Linked DNA regions of Homo sapiens: region 1 is linked to region 2. The links are contacts of gene promoters, found by promoter capture Hi-C in human tissues and cell types (Jung and others, 2019). All regions are on one chromosome and are shown on one strand. Each heading gives the region's core, a stretch centred on a gene start or on the middle of the fragment in contact. The rest is flanking DNA. Distances are from core to core; before and after follow the strand shown. Region 1 overlaps GNAL (G protein subunit alpha L). Region 2 holds the start of MPPE1 (metallophosphoesterase 1).

The links. The method cuts DNA at HindIII sites, captures the fragments that hold promoters and counts their contacts. A contact is called where the count stands out against the background at its distance.
Region 1: a contact is called between a fragment that was not itself captured here and the fragment with the promoter of MPPE1 in region 2, in 1 of the 25 tissues and cell types used here (aorta).

What each region holds. Positions count from the first base shown.
Region 1 is chr18:11,744,725-11,748,405 of GRCh38, forward strand. All of the region lies in intron 1 of GNAL (G protein subunit alpha L), which reads left to right. It also overlaps the pseudogene ASNSP6. Among named protein-coding and RNA genes, the nearest start is that of GNAL, 57 kb to the left of the region's middle. The HindIII fragment of the contact is 7,412 bases long and covers 1-3,681 here.
Region 2 is chr18:11,906,743-11,910,389 of GRCh38, forward strand. It overlaps MPPE1 (metallophosphoesterase 1), which reads right to left and starts at 1,575. Exons shown (of 11, transcript NM_023075.6): 1 at 1,459-1,575. RefSeq lists a silencer at 1,968-2,367. The HindIII fragment of the contact is 9,458 bases long and covers 1-3,647 here.

The sequences.
Region 1 (3,681 bases), core at 936-3,435, 160 kb before region 2:
CTCAGAGACAGAGTCTCGCTCTCTCACCCAGGCTGGAGTGCACTGATGCAAACATGACTCACTGCAGCCTCGACCTCCTGGGCTCCAGCAATCCTCCTGCCTCAGCCTTCCAAGTAGCTGGGACTACAGGTGCATCCCACCATGCCCGGTTAACTTTTGTAATTTTTGTAGAATTGGGGTTTCGCCATGTTGCCCAGGCTGGTTTCAAACTCCGGAGCTCAGGCAATCTGCCCCTCCTTGGTCTCCCAAAGTGCTGGGACTACAGGTGTGAGCCACTGTGATGGGCGCTAAAACTGTTGATGTACCTGTTCCAGAAGTCTTAGTGCAGTTTTCATCTTTAATAACCTTTAAAGTATAAAGACTACAGAAGACCAGTTATTACATTTTCTATCTATTGTTTTTTTATTAAAATTTAATGTATCCACCGTCTTGTGCTATACATACATCTAGTCAGTTTTCAAACTTGATCAGCATCTCCTGGATCTTGGCCTGTCGTGAACTGAAACAGCTGCCTTGAATTTTTTCATCCTTTCATCCAGTTGTTAATTAAATTTCTGCAGGGGTGGGAGGCTCCTTATAATGGGAAACAAATTTCCTTCTTACTGCTATTGGGGACTTAAGCTCAGCTAACCAGAGAACAGGTGACTTTTTTTTCAACATTTGCCATCTTCAATCCGAAAGACTGAAAGAGACCAAGTTTTTAAATTATTATTCAAAATTTACAAAACTAAGTATAAAAGAAATTTAAATAATTAAACTTTCAAATGCACTAAGACTTCTGAGATGCCTTCTGCAGCCCTGGCCCTGGCTGTCCCCTCCAACCTGACCCGCTGGTGCCTAGTCTTTTCCATCACATTTGATTTATTTGAATAAATCAGAGCCCATGGCTTCACAGGACCGTATATGGCATTTGGGCCCTCTTTGGCAGCAACGACTGCCTTTCTGTTCACACGCATTTCGTTTTGAGAATGCCAATGGACACACCAACTGCTTCTTTGGATTTCACCAGTTGGCAGTGGTTGATCAGCTATTTGGAATGCAGCCGATTTGAGTGAAGAAATATCCATATTTGTAGCCCTGTTACAATAGTGAAAGCTACAACCACAAAAAAAAGATGCAACACCATTTTGAATTTGAACACCAGACCAACGTGAATAGTGAGATAATCGTCATCTTTACGACAAAAGAGGGATTGAGCAAACAGTTTGTATGTTGGATGATGTATTTGCAATTACTTTGCTAGATACTGCCAATAAGAAAGTGTTCTTGGGCAGAGATACCTAGGGAGTCGGGTTTTGTTTAAAGCCGTAACAGAAGATGGATTTTGGTTGTGTCTTCAGAAGCTGAAGTTCTTGTTCCATTGGAGCACTCCACGACTCCCCTTTTAAAAGTGGAGCCTTTTGTTCTGGGACACTATGAAGTTTTGGATTTAAAGGCAAATGGCAAAGTTGCATCTGTGGAAATGGTTAAATATCATCACTGTAGGTACAACCTCTGCATGCCTTCTGTAACAATGTGGAGAAGCTCTTCTCAGGTTTAGAGACAGAAACTTTGAAGAGCAAGCTTTGGTTCCTTTTTAACAATGATATTAAGAAGAATTTAATGCCAGGTGCAGTGGCTCACACCTGTAATCCCAGCACTTTGGGAGGCCAAGGTGGAAGGATCACTTGAGTCCAGGAGTTTAAGACCAGCTTGGGCAACATAGCAAGACCCCATCTCTACAGAAAATTTAAAAATTACCCAGGAGTGGTGGCACATGCCTGTAGTCCCAGCTACTTGGGAGGCCAAGGGGAGAGGATCCCTCCAGCCCAGGAGGTTGAGGCTACAGTGAGCTGTGATTGTGCCACTGCACTCAAGCCTGGCAGCAGAGTGAGACCCTGTGTCTAAAAAAAAGAAAGAAGAAGAAGGAGAGGGAGAAAAAGGAGAAGGACAATTTTGACGACAGACAGAAGGATAGGCTCCATTTTATTAGGGGCTTGGACTCTGGCTTGGTTGCTGCCACCCAGGTGAAGCAGCTGAAAGAGACGCAGTGCAAAATACACTCCCCAGACATTTGTGACTGGCATGGAGGGCAGCCCTGATTTATTGGTTGCTGGACGAGTGGCAGATCGTATTGGAAGTGAACATCATGAAACCCTCTTGAACTCTGAGGAAGGCACTCAGGCTCTGGATGAAGTCATATTTTCCTTGGAAACTTAGGACATTACAACAGTTTGCACTTCAGTAGGTGAGTATTTAATTTCCGAGTAGATTTGGAAGAACACAGATAGCATGGTGATCTTCTCTGGACAGAGATCAGATGAACTTATGCAGGGTTATGTATATTTTCATGAGGCCGAGGAGAGAGAGGCCTCTGAAGGAGCTCTATTTGTTTGGTGTTCTCAGCGCAGATCGAACTGCCCACGCTGCCCACAGCCTTGAACTGAGAGTCTGGTTTCTGCATCATCGATTTTCTTCCTGTTACATGTCTCTGCCACCAGAAATGAGAACTCCAAAGATGAGGTGGAGAAACAGCTCCTGAAAGAGACATTTGAGGACTCCAGTCTGAGACCCTGAAGAGATTCTCTGGGGAACAAAAGAAGCCTTCAGGGATGGAATAAGAATGCCTGGTTTAAGGTGTTACAGGAATATGTTGAACATCAGGTTGAAGACGCAATGACAGCAAATGTGGGCCAGAAATTTCCCTTCAATATCCTAAAGCCAAAGAAGTCTGTTCATGCCCTTGAGGCTTGAATGCCACTACCCAGGCAGGGTGCAGTGGCTGACCCAGTACCGCATGCCCACATGGATCGATGCCCGCTCACTGACCCACTGCAAGTCAGCTACCTAAGCCTAGGTGCTCTCTGAGCCAAAGAGCAACAGCAAATGTTCTTGTTGTGAAGGATAGGGGTACTGGGGATGGATAGGGGTACTGGGGATGGATAGGGGGGCAAGGAAAATCACCCAGGCCTACTGGGGTGTGAAAAAAATAAAAGTCTTAAATTAAAAAAAAAAAAGAAAGAAAAAGACTTCTGAGACATCCTGTATGTCTTAAACTTCAACAAGAGTGAGGAAACAACTGTTTTACTTTTGTGCCTTTCAAATTCTCCACGAGGTGACCAGGACCTTCTCTTCCTGGCTCTGGCGCAGTCAGCCTGGACCCTCTGCCGGTGGCTCCCAGGGCAGCCCTGGGTCCCCGCAGGTGGGTGTGTTGCCGGGGAGCGCAATGCTGCTGCTGCGGTTGCCTAGCAACAGACGCTCACACTGGCAGCGGGCGCCACTCTGCTCTTGGTACCCTCCCCACCAGCCCTGCTCCCACTGCTCCAGGTGGCCAGCTGGTACACCTGATGCTGATCCAATGGTTCTAAACACAAATGAGAATCGGTTTCCCAGACCAAACTAGAAAAAGGTCAGGTGATTGGGTTAAAAATTTTTTTAAGGTGTGTTGAATTCCTACCTGAAAATAGGCTAAGATTGGCTTTGCATTTTTCATGAGAAATGTCTCGTCACTGTGTAAGGAAAGTGCTTTTATGTTTTAGAGTGTTGGCAATGTGTTGTGGCACACAATGCAGGTAATAGTGCGAATGTTGCAGCCAGGCTGCAAGGGTCTGTGTCCCAGATACTCTTCTTACTCAGCCTCTCAGTCTCTGTAAAATGATGATGACAATAGTTCCCACCTTTTAGGGCAAATACCAAGTAAAT
Region 2 (3,647 bases), core at 325-2,824:
ACTCGGGAGGCTGAGGCAGGAGAATCGCTTGAATGCGGGAGGCGGAGGTTGTAGTGAGCCGAGATCGCGCCATTGCACTCCAGCCTGGGCAACAAGAGCGAAACTCCGTCTCAAAAAAAAAAAAAAAAAATTTATCTTTGAACTTTTCAATTTGTATTTATTTATTTATTTATTTTTAGAGATAGGGTCTCACTCCACCGCCCATTGTAAATCAAAAATGAAATCCTAAGACCCCTCAACCATCTGCATGGACCCCACCAAGGGCATTCCAGAGTTAACCTTGTTTTAGGTTGTTTTAAGCAAAACTTGTTTAGGCCATGATGGGAAGTGGGGGTGGAACTTGACACATTTCATCCTCCTCCCTTTTAGAATTCAGGAAAAGCAGACCAGCATTTAACATGCTGGACACTTAACTTACCTGGAGGCTTCATCTGCATGATAAAACTTCAGTCTCCACAGCCTCTTATTGTAACCCAAACATTCCTTTCCATTGATAATAAATCTTTCAACCAAATGCCAATCAGAAAATTTTCAATCTACCTATAACCCGGAAACCCCCGACCCACCCACCTCCTCAGCTGTCATACCTTTATGGACCGAACCAATGTACATCTTAATCTTACATGTATTTGACTGATGACTCATGGCTCCCCTAAAATGCATAAAACCACACTGGGCCCCGACCACCTTGCGTACGCGTTCTCAGGGTCTCCAAATGGCTGTGTCACCAGCCATGGTCACTCATATTTGGCTCAGAATTAATCCCTTCAAATATTTTATAGAGTTTTGACTTTTTGTCAACCGCAGGCTGCGTCACAGCTCGCTGCAGCCCCAAACTCCTGCGCTGAAGCGATCCTTTCCCCCACAACTTCTCGAGTAGCAGGGACTTCAGGTGCGTGCCACTACACCTGGCTTTTTTTTTTTTTTTTTTTGGTACTTTTGTTGTTATGGTGGGGGCGGGGGACTTGCTATGTTGCCCAGGCTGGTCTCGCATCTCTGGGATCAAGCCATCCTCCCACTTCAGCGTCCCAGAGTGCTGGAATTACAGGCCTAAGCAACGGCACCCAGCCTATCTTTTAATTTTTAACTTCAAAGTTATCGTTAAAAATCTAATCCCCCCAAAATATGAAAAAAATACTTAATATGCACTGACCTGTAGTTTTTCTCTAATTCACTATCTTAAATATATTAATTGCAATCTCATCAACTGCGACTTGCATTTGAAATTTTCCACCTTAAACGGTATTTTTTGATAAGATGGATTTTTTAAAAAATCTACACCAGCAAACTAGAGTGAGAGACCCCTGCAAAGTAATACATGGGCCTTAAGTCACCGAGATTTTCCAGCAAATAATTTGCAGAATGCTGTTTTTCCTAGGTTAACTTGCAATCCTAACACGGAAGGAGGTTCCGTTTTTAGAAGTTTAAATGTTGTCACACGGGCGCAAGAATACATACAACAGCCATGCTTTCCAGCTCTGCGCACAACGCCAGGCAGATGGGGAGCACCGGGCGGTGCGGGAGCCCTTTCACCAGGGCAGGGTGGCTTCGGTGGCCGAGGGACCCGGGAACTGCAGCCGGAGCCGGCGCGCACCCAGCCAACTTCCTGTTTCCGCGGTAGCGCGCGGGCCTGTCACTGAAGCCCCGCCCCGGCGACCTCAGGCGGGCGGGGAAGACCGAGTCTTCCCGGAGCCGCTTCGTCCGCCCGGCGCCGGAGTCCCACGGCCGGTTTGCGGAAGCGGGTCGTCTGAAGGGGCCCGGCGGGTGGCTCCCGGGTCTCCGCGGCCTGTGATCCCCAGAGCGGACAACCGCAGCTGGGGCTCCGTGCGCAACTCGGAGTAAAGGCCGGAACCTACGCTCGGCGGCCGCGTCCCGGCCCCTAGCGCCCTCCGCGAAGTGCCTGGCAGGCTCGGCAGTCTGAGTGTCGCGTTACAGAGTCCCCTGGGCAGTCACCGCTGAAGGGCGGGGGACGCGGGAAAGGCATTTTGGGGACACAGGAGAGCTGCGAGGGCGAAGCACGGGCGAGCTGTCGTTAGGGCCCAGGAAAGGCCCGTTGCGGGGCGCACAGGCGGGCAGGGGAACTCGCGCCCCGCGCCGCGCGCCCGGCCTCCTGACGCCAGGGCCGGCTTCTGAGCACAGCCACCGCGGCGGCCGGGGGCGGCCACTGCTCCCCGCGAGCCCGCTTCCGCGCCCCAGAAGCCCCCAGAGCCCGCGTCCGAGCTCCAGGCCTTGGAGGAGCCAGGCGGGCAGCTGACAGCCCCGGAGCCGCTCCCGGGTTCCGCGCGCGGTGGCAGCCAGGCCGTGCCTCCCCGTTCCCCTCCCGCGCCGCGCTGCCCCTCCGGGACCCACCAGGCCTGGCTGCGCCTCTTTCCTCTCCTCCCCCGGAGCCTTGGAAAGTGCCCTCCAGAGATGTGCTTAGGAAGTGTGTGATGAATAAAGGAGACAATCAGGATAACTATAATATTTATTATGCACTTGCTTTTTTCTCACTGATGTTACTAATTTTAATGGTGTAGCGCGGCGCGTTCCAGTTTTCTAAGTGCTCTCACATCCGTTCAAAAAATCCTCAAAATAAGCCTGTATATTAAAAGCAGGAGCCATTATTTCATATTTCAAGAAGTAAACATGCTCAGAGTAATAATCCACATAGAGCCTTCCAACCAGTCAATTCTGGTACATTTTCACAAATCTATGAGTGTGGTTAATACACGGAGATGTGGTTTGAGGAATTATATAGGACACAGCCAGCAAAATGCCTGGTATACAATAAGTATGCGGTAAATGGTTATTATTATTAAGAATATTGTAATATCTTCAGATATGATCAGGTGAACAACTTTGACATAATCGAAACTGGGACAGCCTGATTCCATAAACACACTAATATGGCACCGTGGATTGTTTGCAGCCTCACCTCTAAAGTATTCTCTCTGACTAACAAAGAAAGGGAAACTAGAACCAGTTAAGCTTATAACACTAATCACAGGCTAAAGGAAATACAGGGGCCAAATGAACCCATTAGATTACACCACCAGGAAGTAATCTGCCAAATCCAGAATGTGGGAAATTCTACAAACCAAATGACCCAATTTCTTTTTTCAAAAATAAATGTTCAGAGGCTGAAGTGGGAGGATTGCTTAAGGCCAGAGTTCAAGGCTGTAGTGAGCTATGATCACAGCTGTGAATAGCCACTGCACTCCAGGCTGGGCAACACAGCTAGACCCCCCATGTCTTTAAAAAAAAGAGGGTGGGGGGACCTTGAGAGACACATTAGCCAAATGCAATTTGTGGACCTTGTTTGGGTCATGATTAAGACAAACAAACTTTTACATAAATAAATGGCATTTTTAAAAACATTGGCGGCCAGGCGCGGTGGTTCTTGCCTGTAATGCCAGCACTTTGGGAGGCCGAGGCGGGCAGATCAGGAGGTCAGGAGATCAAGACCATCCTGGCTAACACGGTGAAACCCCGTCTCTACTAAAAAAAAAAAAAAAAAAAAAAAAATTAGCCGGGTGTAGTGGCAGGTGCCTGTAGTCCCAGCTACTCGGGAGGTTGAGGCAGGAGAATGGTGTGAACCCGGGAGGCAGAGCTTGCAGTGAGCCCAGATCACGCCACTGCACTCCAGCCTGGGCGACAGAGTGAGACTC